2 separate regions of the Homo sapiens genome follow, and region 2 is linked to region 1. Evidence: promoter capture Hi-C in 16 types of primary human blood cells and fetal thymus (Javierre and others, 2016). All regions are on one chromosome and are shown on one strand. Each heading gives the region's core, a stretch centred on a gene start or on the middle of the fragment in contact. The rest is flanking DNA. Distances are from core to core; before and after follow the strand shown.

Region 1 (5,901 bases), core at 1,622-4,121:
CATAACCTGTGACATAGGAGGCAGGATTATATATTTTTATTTTTATATTTATATATGTGTATATTTTTCAAAACAGAGCCTCACTTCGTCACCCAGGCTGGAGGGCAGTGGCACAATCTCAGTTCACTGCAACCTCTGCCTCCCGGGTTCAAGCAATTATTGTGCTTCAGCCTCCCTTGTAGCGGGGATTACAGGTGTGCACCACCACACCCAGCGATTTTTTTTTTTAAAAGAAACAAAATAGCAACTCCAGTGTTTACTCCTCTTTCCAGACAACACATGAGCGTGTGCACACACATATAGTGCACACATGCCCACATGTGCGCAAACACACAGCAGTCTCCCTTTATCCACCAATTCAGGTACCTCATAGTCAACCATGTTCTGAAAATACTACATGGAAAATTCTAGAAATAAACCATTCATAAGTTTTAAATTACACAGTATTCTCAGTAGCGTGATGGGATCTCCCACCGCCCCACTCCATCCCACCTGAAACGTGAGTCATCCCTTTGTCCACTACCTCCACATGCTGCATGCTCCCTGATGGGCATTTAGCAGCCGTGTGGGCTATCAGATCCACTGTCATGGCATTGCAGGGCTTGTGTTCAAAGTAACCCTTATTGGGCCGGGCGCAGTGGCTCACGCCTGTAATCCCAGCACTTTGGGAGGCCTAGGTGGGCGGATCACTTGAGGTTAGGAGTTTGAGACCAGCCTGGCCAACATGGTGAAACCATGTCTCTGATAAAAATACAAGAAAAATTAGCTGGGTGTGGTGGTATGCACCTGTAGTCCAGCTACTCGGGAGGCTGAGATGGGAGAATTGCTTGAACCCAGGAGGCAGATGTTGCTGTGAGCCGAGATCATGCCATTGCACTCCAGCCTCGGTGACAGAGCGAGACTTCATCTCCAAAAAACAAAAATAAAGACAACCCCCCACCCAAAGTAACACTTATTTTACTAAATAATGCAAGAGTAGCGATGCTGGCAATTTGGAAGTGCCAAAAAGAAGCCATAAAATGTTTCCTTTAAATGAAAAGGTAATAGTTCTCAATAAGGAAAGAACAAAAAACATCATATACTGAGGTTGCTAAGATCTATGATAAGAATGCATCTTCTGTTCATGAAATTGTGAAGAAGGAAACAGAAATTTGTGTTAATTTTGCTGGTGTACCTCAAACTGCAAAATGCAGCCACAGTGCAGGATAAGTGCTAATGAAAATAGAAGGGGCTTCAATTTGTGGGTGGAAGACACGAACAGAAACATGCTCCAGCTGATGGCAGCCAGGTTCGGTACGATCCGAGGTTTTAAGGCATCCACTGCGGGTCCTGGAATGTATCCCCCGTTGGATAAGGGGGGGACTACTGTACATTTGGTCTCCAGAACTCTTGGGAGGCTGTGATGAGAAGGACGTACTGCCCTCACCCAGCCCACTTCACGTCACCCTCCTAAGGACCAGGCTTCACAGGTGATAGGAGAATTTCTGCAGTCTGGGAGGCAGCTGCCCAAGGTGCTGAGTTTGCGTGTGAAGCTGGTTTCTCAGCGAGATCCACGCTGGAGTTGGCTGCACAACTTTCCTGCCTGAGTGAGATGGATCCCCTAGGGTCAGGGGTCAGACATGGAAACCTTGGCTTCTGGGAGAGGGTAGCAGAACAGAGTTCAAAGGCACTGGTTTATGGCATCTCATAAAAACTCCAGGTGGGCCGGGTGCAGTGGCTCACGCCTGTAATCCCAGCACTTTGGGAGGCCGAGGTGGGCGGATCACGAGGTCAAGAGTTCAAGACCAGCCTGGCCGACATGGTGAAACCCCGTCTCTACTAAAAATACAAAAATTAGCTGGGCGTGGTGGTGTGCGGCTGTAATCCCAGCTACTCGGGAGGCTGAGGCAGGAGAATCACTTGAACCCAGGAGGCGGAGGATGCAGTGAGATGAGATCACGCCACTGCACTCCAGCCTGGGCGACAGAGACAGACTCCATCTCAGCAAAAAAAACGAAAACAAAAAAAACACTCCAGGTGGAGCCAGTGCCCCTAAGGGTGGAGAGGAGGAGCAGTTGTGCTCACTGGGGCCCTTGCTAAGTGAGGGTCATGCTGAGAAGAGACCTCTAGGAGACCTCTAAGAGACCTCCCATCTGTTCTGGAGGGGCCCTGAGTATAAGTCCCTGCATTCCTGGGTTTGGGGCTTCTGCAACCCTAGAGTCCTGCCTCTCTTTCTCCATGAACCATTCACCCCAGGGCAGGTGGGAGGACAGCTGAGCCTCCTTCTCTTGGTTGGTAGGAGGAAAGGTTCAGGCGCCGCTGACCCTACCTGGACAGTGCTGTCTGCCTGTGGTGAGGGCCTGGGCCCTGGGCAGAAAAGCACCCCATCCCTTGCTCACTCAGAAGCCAAGGGAGGGGCTGGGCGCCGGGCCTCACACCTGTAATCCCAGCACTTTGGGAGGTCGAGGCAGGTGGATCATTTGAGGTCAGGAGTTCAAGTCCAGCCTGGCCAACATGGTGAAACCCTGTCTCTGCTAAATATACAAAAATTAGCCAGGCATGGTGGCACATGTCTGTAGTCCCAGTTACTTGGGAAGCTGAGGCAGGAGAATCACTTGAACTTGGGAGGCGGAGGTTGCAGTGAGTCGAATTCATACCACTGCACTCCAGCCTGAATGACAGAGTGAGGCTCAAAAAAAAAAAAAAGCCAAGGGTGGGGCACATCAGCTCTCATTGTCAGGCTGTGGAGGGCTCTGGGCTCCCAGGGACCTGGCAGCACCTGCCTCCCCACCCCCTCACCTCTCTGGGGCCCTATCTTCCCTTATATGGTGAAGGCAGTTCCTAGAGGAGGGGGGGTGGGGACAAAGGTCGCTCTTCTGCAGCCAGCTTGCCACAATTCCCTGAGATCTCCCAGGTGGCAGCTGCCTCCCCAAGACAGGTAAGGCAACCTGGTGGGAACACATGGAGACCTTAGGTGGTGCGAGGGGACGGGGTCCTCTGCTTTTCTCGGGCAACTTGGGGCCTCCTGGAGCACCTTGGTACGGGCTCGAAGGGGAGGCTTGACACTCTGGATAGCGTGAGAAGTGCTGGGAGCCCAGTGTGTCTGCCCTGGGCCTCCAGGGAGAGACTTTTGCAGGCCCTGCCCCAGACAATGGCTCTCTCAGTCTCCTACCTGTGGCTAGCCCCATCCCACTTTGGGTGTCACCATCCCAATTGCCCTGGAACTTCTAGAGTTAAAACCAGGACAGTGCTGGGCAGACCGGGACTAGTTGGTCTCCCTGACCTCACTCCCCGAGCCCCCTCCCCACCAGCTCATCTCTTTGCCCGTGCGTTCTTCATCTGAAGTGTTTTTTTCTTTGTGTCACCATTCCTCTGACACTCCTGGGACCTCCGGGTCCTGCCTCCTGGCTCCTAGCATATGAGCAACAGCCACCAGCAATTGAATGGGCACACACAGAGGCAAGGGCAGAGGCAAGGGGCTGGAGGTGGCAGGGCCTTAGGTCCTGGGCCATGCCGGGCCACCCTAGCATGCACCTCTGCCCCATCTCCCCTCTACCCGGAGCTGCCCCATTGGCCTCCCCAGCCACTGTGGGCCCATTCAGCAGAACTAGGAATGGGAGCTAGCTGCAGACCAGGCTCTGAGGACACACTGGCTGCTGTCTTCTCGGGACATCATCTGCTGGGGCAGAGCCTTTGGGCTGGAGGGTCTTGGCGGGTGTCCATTCCCTCTTCTATCATGAGCCTGGGAAGCAGGAGGATGTCCTTTGTCTGAGGGGTGGGACTTCACCCCCACTGCCCCACCACATTCCTGTCCAGCTCAGAGCTGCACGACTGGGAACTAGGAGCCGTGGCAGCACCCCACTTACAACAGAGCCGCAACTCAAGTACAACAGGGCTCAGATAAGAAAGGCATGGTGGGCCAGGTGCAGAGCCTCATGCTTGGAATCCCAGCACTTTGGGAGGCCAAGTGGGGTGGATCACTTGAGGTCAGGACTTCAAGACCAGCCTGACCAACATAGTGAAACCCCGTTTCTACTAAAAATACATAATTAGCTGGGTGTGCTCGCGCACGCCTATAGTCCCAGCTACTCGGGAGGCTGAGGCACGAGAATCGCTTGAACCCAGGAGGCGGAGATGACAGTGAGCCAGAATTGCACCATTGCACTCCAGCCTGGGTGACAGAGTGAGACTCTGTCTCAAAAAAAAAAAAAAAAAAAGAAAAGAAAAAAAGAAAAAAGAAAGAAAGGCAAGATGGACCTGCAGACAGTGGGAGCCCAAACCCCTCCAGTGCCCTGGGAGGGTCCTCCTTCCATCCCACAGTTCAGCCTTTCAGCATCATGAGTATTTGTTTTTTTTTTTTTTGTTTTTTTTTTGAGAAGGAGTCTCACTCTTTCATCCAGGCTGGAGTGCAGTGGCGTGATCTCAGCTCACTGCAGGCTCCACCCCCTGGGTTCACGCCATTCTCCTGCCTCAGCCTCCCGCGTAGCTGGGACTACAGGCGCCCACCATCTCGCCCGGCTAATTTTTTGTATTTTTAGTAGAGACAGGGTTTCACCGTGTTAGCCAGGATGGTCTTGATCTCCTGACCTCGTGATCCGCCTGCCTCGGCCTCCCAAAGTGCTGGGATTACACGCGTGAGCCACCACGCCCAGCCCATGAGTATTTGTTGAGCACCTACTATGTGCTAGGAGCTGGGGGCTGCAAAGACAAACATATCTAGGTCTTGGAGCTCAGGGACCTCCAACTTACAAACAGGTTATTTCATCACCATGTGGTCAGGGGGCCAAGAGAAGGGACAGTCCAGGATGCAGAGGGGCCCCTTGTCCAGCTGAGGATTCTAGGAAGGTCTCCTGGAAGAAATGAGATCTAAATTGAGTCTAGAAGAGCATGTTAGTGTCAGAAAGGTGGGGAGAGCTTTCCATATTGGAGCAGTGCAAGCAGGCGTGGGGTGAGAGGCAGCATGGGGGTGGGGCCGCCAGCAGTGTGGCATTTCTAGAGGGCAGAGTGCCAGCAGAGAGGGGCCAGGGGGCTGTGTGTAGTGGGGAGACTCAAGGGAGTTTAGGTGGATGGAAGGGCAGGAGCAGAAAGAGTCCAGGATGCTGCACAGATGGCTGACTTTGGGGTCTTGGGGTGACCATGCCCTTCCCTGGTCTGGGGACACAGAAGAGAAAGTACCAGGAGTGGAGGAAGCCAGTGAATTAAAACTGAAGGAGGAGACAACTCAAATCCAAACCAGAGTCCACGGTGGCAGGGCTGGGGGAAGTGACGGGCCCTGGTCTTCCTGGAAGTTCAGGGAAGACAGGAGAAGTGAGGAGGAGGCCCTACCAAGGGGTGGAGGAGAGGCATCTGCTCTGACCAACATGGGTAGAGGGCAGGAGCATCTGGAGGGTATACACCAGGTAGGGGGGCCACATCTCAGAGCTTCCACTCCTGAGTCCCCTTGCCCACCTTTGGCCTGTGGGGGCTGGCCCCAATCCTGATTTCTCTCTGGGGAGGGGGAGCGCTGGCTTTTTCAAGTCTCTGCTCCCCTGAATCCCCTCTCTGATAAGCAAGAAGTGCCTGCTCATGTCCACCCTCTATTCCTCTTGCTGCCAGTTAACCCTGGAATCAGCATGTCCCTGGGTGAGGCTTTAGAGATCATCGATTTAGTTAACCCCCTAAGTTGACCCCCTCAGCTCATAGATGAAGAAGGGAAGTCTACGTTCATACAGCTAGTGAGTGTCAAAGAAAAAGAGGGACGGGGCCCGGCGCGGTGGCTCACGCCTGTAATTCCAGCAATTTAGGAGGCTGAGGCGGGTGGATCACCTGAGGTCAGGAGTTCGAGACCAGCCTGGCCAACATGGTGAAACCCCCGTCTCTATTAAAAATACAAAAATTAGCTGGGCTTGGTGGCTCGCGCCTGTAATCCCAGCTACTTGGGGG
Region 2 (5,482 bases), core at 2,983-5,482, 830 kb after region 1:
TCTCTGGCCCGAGCCAGGTCAGTCCGGCAGTGCAGATGGCCCATCCCGGGCTCTGGGCTCCTAGACCGGGGTGGGCCCTGCCAGGAGTGGGCCTGAGCCTCGCACGTCCTCTGAAACTACGCTATGCTCTGCTTTTGCGGCGCGATGGGCGTGGGAGCGGGGGCTGCCCAAAGATGGGCTGGGGTTGGAGGAAGTGGCCCGGTAGCCGCTGTGTGTCCTGAGGCCGTAAGGCGCCTGACCCCACCCCTGAAGCTGGCGACGGAGCAGGGCCTGTTTTCTCTACACTATAGTGTAGGTTCCAGAGACCTGGGCCTGAGCTCTCCGCATTGGTACTTCATGGGTCGTCTGGATTGTGCCGGACCTGTGACCCTGCCGTTGTTTTCTTTCCAGCATGATCCGCTGGGCCCCCAGCGCATCTCCTGGAAGAGCCCACTCACCCTGGACGAGCTCTTCGGTAGCCTCAGACCGTCCTTGAAGAGGATGACTGAGACATTATGGGCCACGCGCTGTGTGTCTGCTCTCGGGGAACTGTCATCATTGACAATAAGCGCTACCTCTTCATCCAGAAACTGGGGGAGGGGTGAGTGTTTGGAAGTCAGTTAACTAGTCCTCAAGTTTATGATCATTGAAGGACAGCGGTGTGCATATGCTTGGGGCACAAGGGTTTTATCCCTATCCCTGTCCTCTCTCACCTGACAGAACCTAGCTACACAGTATCAAGAAGGTGGATTCTGGAGCCAGGCCTGCTAAATCCACCTCGTGTGACCTTGATAAACCATGTTTTTTTCATCAGCTTAATGGAGATGATTATTATCCCTCACTGATGGAGTTGTGAGGATTAAATGAGATAATGTGTATAAAATGTCTCACCCAATGCGGGGTTGACAAGTACTTGATAAGTGTTGGCTATTATTTATTTAGCATCTGTCAAGTGCAGAGGTCTCTATTACGACCATAGGACCTCAAAGATTTCTATATCTCTGCTCCTGAGGAGCTCACGGTGTAATATTCTTCAGATTTCTCTTAGAGCCACATCTTGGGAAGGTTTCTGCTAAATGGGAAGGACACCCCACTCCCCACCAGGAAATTTCTCTAGGTCCAAGCCATGTGGGAGATGACCATGGCCCTTTATTGACCCCTTTGGCCCACAGTGGGTTCAGCTATGTGGACCTAGTGGAAGGGTTACATGATGGACACTTCTACGCCCTGAAGCGAATCCTGTGTCACGAGCAGCAGGACCGGGAGGAGGCCCAGCGAGAAGCCGACATGCATCGCCTCTTCAATCACCCCAACATCCTTCGCCTCGTGGCTTACTGTCTGAGGGAACGGGGTGCTAAGCATGAGGCCTGGCTGCTGCTACCATTCTTCAAGGTCAGAAAGACTCCTGGTTATGGAGGGGGTTGCAGCAGAGCCACCTACTCAAGGGCTGTGTGAGCAGTCCAGCATGTTAGGAAGCAGGGACCATGTCCTGGGTTTGGCCACTTTAGATTTTGAGTTTGAGGTGTGTATCATGAAAGGGCTGATAGGCTTTGACATAGGGAAGGGATCAGGCCTAAGGAGCAGAGGCTCCAAAAACATCTCCAACTGTAGGGAAACTTGTGTTGCAGAGAGGTACGCTGTGGAATGAGATAGAAAGGCTGAAGGACAAAGGCAACTTCCTGACCGAGGATCAAATCCTTTGGCTGCTGCTGGGGATCTGCAGAGGCCTTGAGGCCATTCATGCCAAGGGTTATGCCCACAGGTCAGTGGGAGGACCCTGTGTGCTTGCTGGGGCCCAGAGGAAGAGCCTCACCAGGAGACATGGGAGGTCTCTGTTCTCCCAAGAAACAGCCTGTATGATTCTTTTGCTTGCTGGGATTCCAGCCTTCCTGTCCAGAGATGCTCATAGGTCACTTCTACTTCTCTACAGAGACTTGAAGCCCACCAATATATTGCTTGGAGATGAGGGGCAGCCAGTTTTAATGGACTTGGGTTCCATGAATCAAGCATGCATCCATGTGGAGGGCTCCCGCCAGGCTCTGACCCTGCAGGTAAAAGAGTCTCCAGGTTCCTTTTCTCACCTGTTCCCCATTCCCACCCCTTCTGGTGCATGTCCCAGTTTGGTCACATGACCATGACCTGTGCCCCACTTTTGAGCTCTGGGATCACTGTTCCAGGACTGGGCAGCCCAGCGGTGCACCATCTCCTACCGAGCCCCAGAGCTCTTCTCTGTGCAGAGTCACTGTGTCATCGATGAGCGGACTGATGTCTGGGTGAGGAGCATGTGGGTGGGTATCTGGGTAGGGAGGGCTGTGGCTCTGTACCCACCGTGGAGTAGAGTAGGTTGTTGGTTTCTGTTGCATGGGGCGCCAGGAACCACAATATGTCCCCATCCACTTCAACTTCCTTCCTGGGAAATGTCACTGATACTGTACCCAGTTGTACCGGATGTGGTATAATCTGTGCCCCTGAACAAGGTGAGTACAGCTCAGTGTCAGTAGTGAAGGCACTGGCTAAGCAGGGGCTAAGCTAAACAGGGGCTGCGGAGGCCTCCAGCTGACTGGCAGTTTCTCTGGACCCTGGTGGTGCCATGTGGCTGAGGTCAGCGTATTCTTTTTAGCTTATGGAGTCTCCTTTTACCACAGAAGTAAAGGGAGAGATGTCACCTCCACTGGTCCCCTTCTAGGGACTAATCAAGTTATGCTCAGTCCCTAGGCTGCGTGCTATATGCCATGATGTTTGGGGAAGGCCCTTATGACATGGTGTTCCAAAAGGGTGACAGTGTGGCCCTTGCTGTGCAGAACCAACTCAGCATCCCACAAAGCCCCAGGTGAGTGAGCAACGAATAGGGCATCAAGTGTTTCAGACTCCCCCCTGGTATTAGCTGAGTTGACAGATAGGTGTCATCCGGTCACCCTGGGCTCCTCCCTCCACAGGCATTCTTCAGCATTGCGGCAGCTCCTGAACTCGATGATGACCGTGGACCCGCATCAGCGTCCTCACATTCCTCTCCTCCTCAGTCAGCTGGAGGCGCTTCAGCCCCCAGCTCCTGGCCAACATACTACCCAAATCTGAAAAAGCAGCATGTTGAGAAGATGGCCCCTTGTGCCTTGGAAAGAGGTTCCCATCCCTCATTGGAATCACCACCCATTCCATCCAGGACTTCTCTTACACTTGGGGGTAGCGGGGTCAGGACAATCATCTCAGTCCTGCATCTTTTCTTCTGCTTTCTTCCCTCCAAGAGCAAAACCTGGGCAAGGGGACTTACTGAGTGGGGGTGGGTGGGGGTTGGGAAAAGGGAAACTGGTGGGATATGGAACATGGCTCTGAGCAGGACTGTTGAGCTCACATAGTGTTCTGACTCCAAATCTGGGAGCAGGAGAATGTGTAAACAAGAATAAAGTGGAAGCAGGTTGGTGTAGATCTTAGTCTCAGTGTTCCTGGAGTGAGAGAAGAGGTGCAAGGGGCCCAAAGTCAGGTTGCCATTTCAGGCGAACTGCCTGGGAAGGAGGAATGGTGCAGAGTCGGCAATGGTGTGACTTCATTCTACAGGAGGTTGGTTAGCAGTGGACAGTTCTAGCTTGTCTTAGATCAAAACTTAAAGCTGCTTGGGCTCAAGCTGGCATCTGCCTGTGTCAAGAACTAGGGCCCCCTAAAAACACTCAACTAGTTCTTTCCTTCCTTCACTCCTGGGGTGAGTAGCTTAGTCAAAGCTGCCTAGCCGGTTTGCTAGGCAAGGGCCTCTGGGTGGAGACACCTGAGGAAGCTTTGAGACAGGTAGATTACAGGTCTCCCATCCTCAGCCTAGGGGCGAGGGGAGTGGAGGTGGCAGCGGCAGCTGTTTTGGCCTGTGTCTCCCTGATCGTTCAAGCTCATACATGGTTAATGATTAATGAGGCAGTGTGGTGTGGCAGTATCCAGCTGCCACTTCCTGCCTACTCTGCTGAGTAAACAGGGGCCCTGTCTTAGCTGGGCTTCAAACCTGTTCCCTAGGGAAGGGCTCTGTTCCCTGAATCACCAGGGAGGAAAGGCAAGGGCAGGGTTGGCATCTCCTGCTCTTTTGTGATCCAAGCCTCCTCCCCCGAACCATGTCTACCCCACAGTATGACATCAGCATGGGGCCTGGGGCTCCTGTTAGCAAAGTTGAAGCTTTCCCCAGGGCCCTAGCAGGAGTCTCCCACTAGCTAGCACAGAGGCTGAGGCCAGAAAGAAATCACAAACAGAGGGGAGATGACCTGACTTTTAATGGCACAGCCCCAGCTCCAGCAAAGCAGCAAGACAGGAAGCTATGCAAAGCTGCTCAGAGGTGCAGTGGCACAAACAACTCTAGGAGATCGCCTGTGTTCCCTCCCATCCCCCAAGCTTATGACGTGGCTCCATGCCCAGGAACTCTGGGCCAGCCCAGCCCCACTCCCAAACCCTCATAATGCACAGAGGAGCCTGGGCCAAGCCTTGCTTCCAGAGTTGGTAAATGTAGAGGCAGCAGGAAGAACAGGGTAGCAGTCTAACTTTCAAAGACAGAAACCACTGGATTATACTCCTACTTGGAAAGGAGCTGAAGACTCATCCTTCAACAGTTTGTGCCTGGATTTTGGTCCTCATTTCCTCCCTATACTGAGTAACCCTAGGACTTCAATTTAAAGTCCCTGGGGTTATGCTTCCTGGGCCTGGCAAGAACCCCTTTGCAGGTCTCACCTTCAGCGATGGAAGGGATAAGGGTCATGAACAGCAAACAGAGCAGCAGCAGCATGAAGGGGAAGGCAGCAGAAGCTCAAGCACTCAGAGGGAACAAGAAACCGTGCAAGGAAACTGTTTATTTCGAAAGGATTTTGCAATAAACATAGTGAATAGGCTCCAGGCAGCTGCTTTATTCTTCTCCCTCATCCTCGTCCTCATAGGAGTCGATGCCCACCTCCTCATAATCCTTCTCCAGGGCAGCCATATCCTCACGGGCCTCGGAGAACTCACCCTCCTCCATGCCCTCACCCACATACCAGTGCACAAACGCCCTCTTGGCATACATCAGGTCGAACTTGTGGTCCAGGCGGGCCCAGGCCTCGGCGATGGCGGTCGTGTTGCTCAGCATGCACACGGCACGCTGCACCTTGGCCAGGTCACCCCCAGGCACCACAGTGGGAGGCTGGTAGTTGATACCAACCTTGAAGCCTGTGGGGCACCAGTCCACAAACTGAATGCTGCGCTTGGTCTTGATGGCGGCAATGGCAGCGTTGACATCCTTGGGCACCACATCTCCACGGTACAGCAGGCAGCAGGCCATGTACTTGCCGTGCCGGGGATCACACTTTACCATCTGGTTGGCAGGCTCAAAGCAGGCATTGGTGATCTCTGCCACCGACAGCTGCTCGTGGTATGCCTTTTCTGCAGAGATGACTGGTGCATAGGTGGCCAGGGGGAAGTGGATGCGAGGGTAGGGCACCAGGTTGGTCTGGAACTCTGTCAGGTCCACATTGAGGGCCCCGTCAAAGCGCAGAGAAGCTGTGAT

The links. Contacts are between HindIII fragments. The CHiCAGO score rates a contact against its expected background, and 5 or more counts as called.
Region 2: a contact is called between a fragment that was not itself captured here and the fragment with the promoter of VIL1 in region 1, in 1 of 17 cell types (non-activated CD4 T cells). The highest score is 5.2, in non-activated CD4 T cells.

What each region holds. Positions count from the first base shown.
Region 1 is chr2:218,416,252-218,422,152 of GRCh38, forward strand. VIL1 (villin 1) reads left to right here and starts at 2,872. Exons shown (of 20, transcript NM_007127.3): 1 at 2,872-2,917. The HindIII fragment of the contact is 19,335 bases long and covers 1-5,901 here.
Region 2 is chr2:219,245,506-219,250,987 of GRCh38, forward strand. STK16 (serine/threonine kinase 16) reads left to right here. Exons shown (of 8, transcript NM_001330213.2): 1 at 1-291; 2 at 391-580; 3 at 1,152-1,371; 4 at 1,608-1,741; 5 at 1,910-2,030; 6 at 2,157-2,252; 7 at 2,688-2,809; 8 at 2,916-4,832. The coding sequence starts at 495. The coding sequence ends at 3,054. TUBA4A (tubulin alpha 4a) reads right to left here. Exons shown (of 4, transcript NM_006000.3): 4 at 4,205-5,482. The coding sequence ends at 4,847. Among named protein-coding and RNA genes, the nearest start is that of STK16, 2.8 kb to the left of the region's middle. RefSeq lists enhancers at 1-237, 1-115, 4,478-4,567, 4,608-4,727. The HindIII fragment of the contact is 213 bases long and covers 4,127-4,339 here.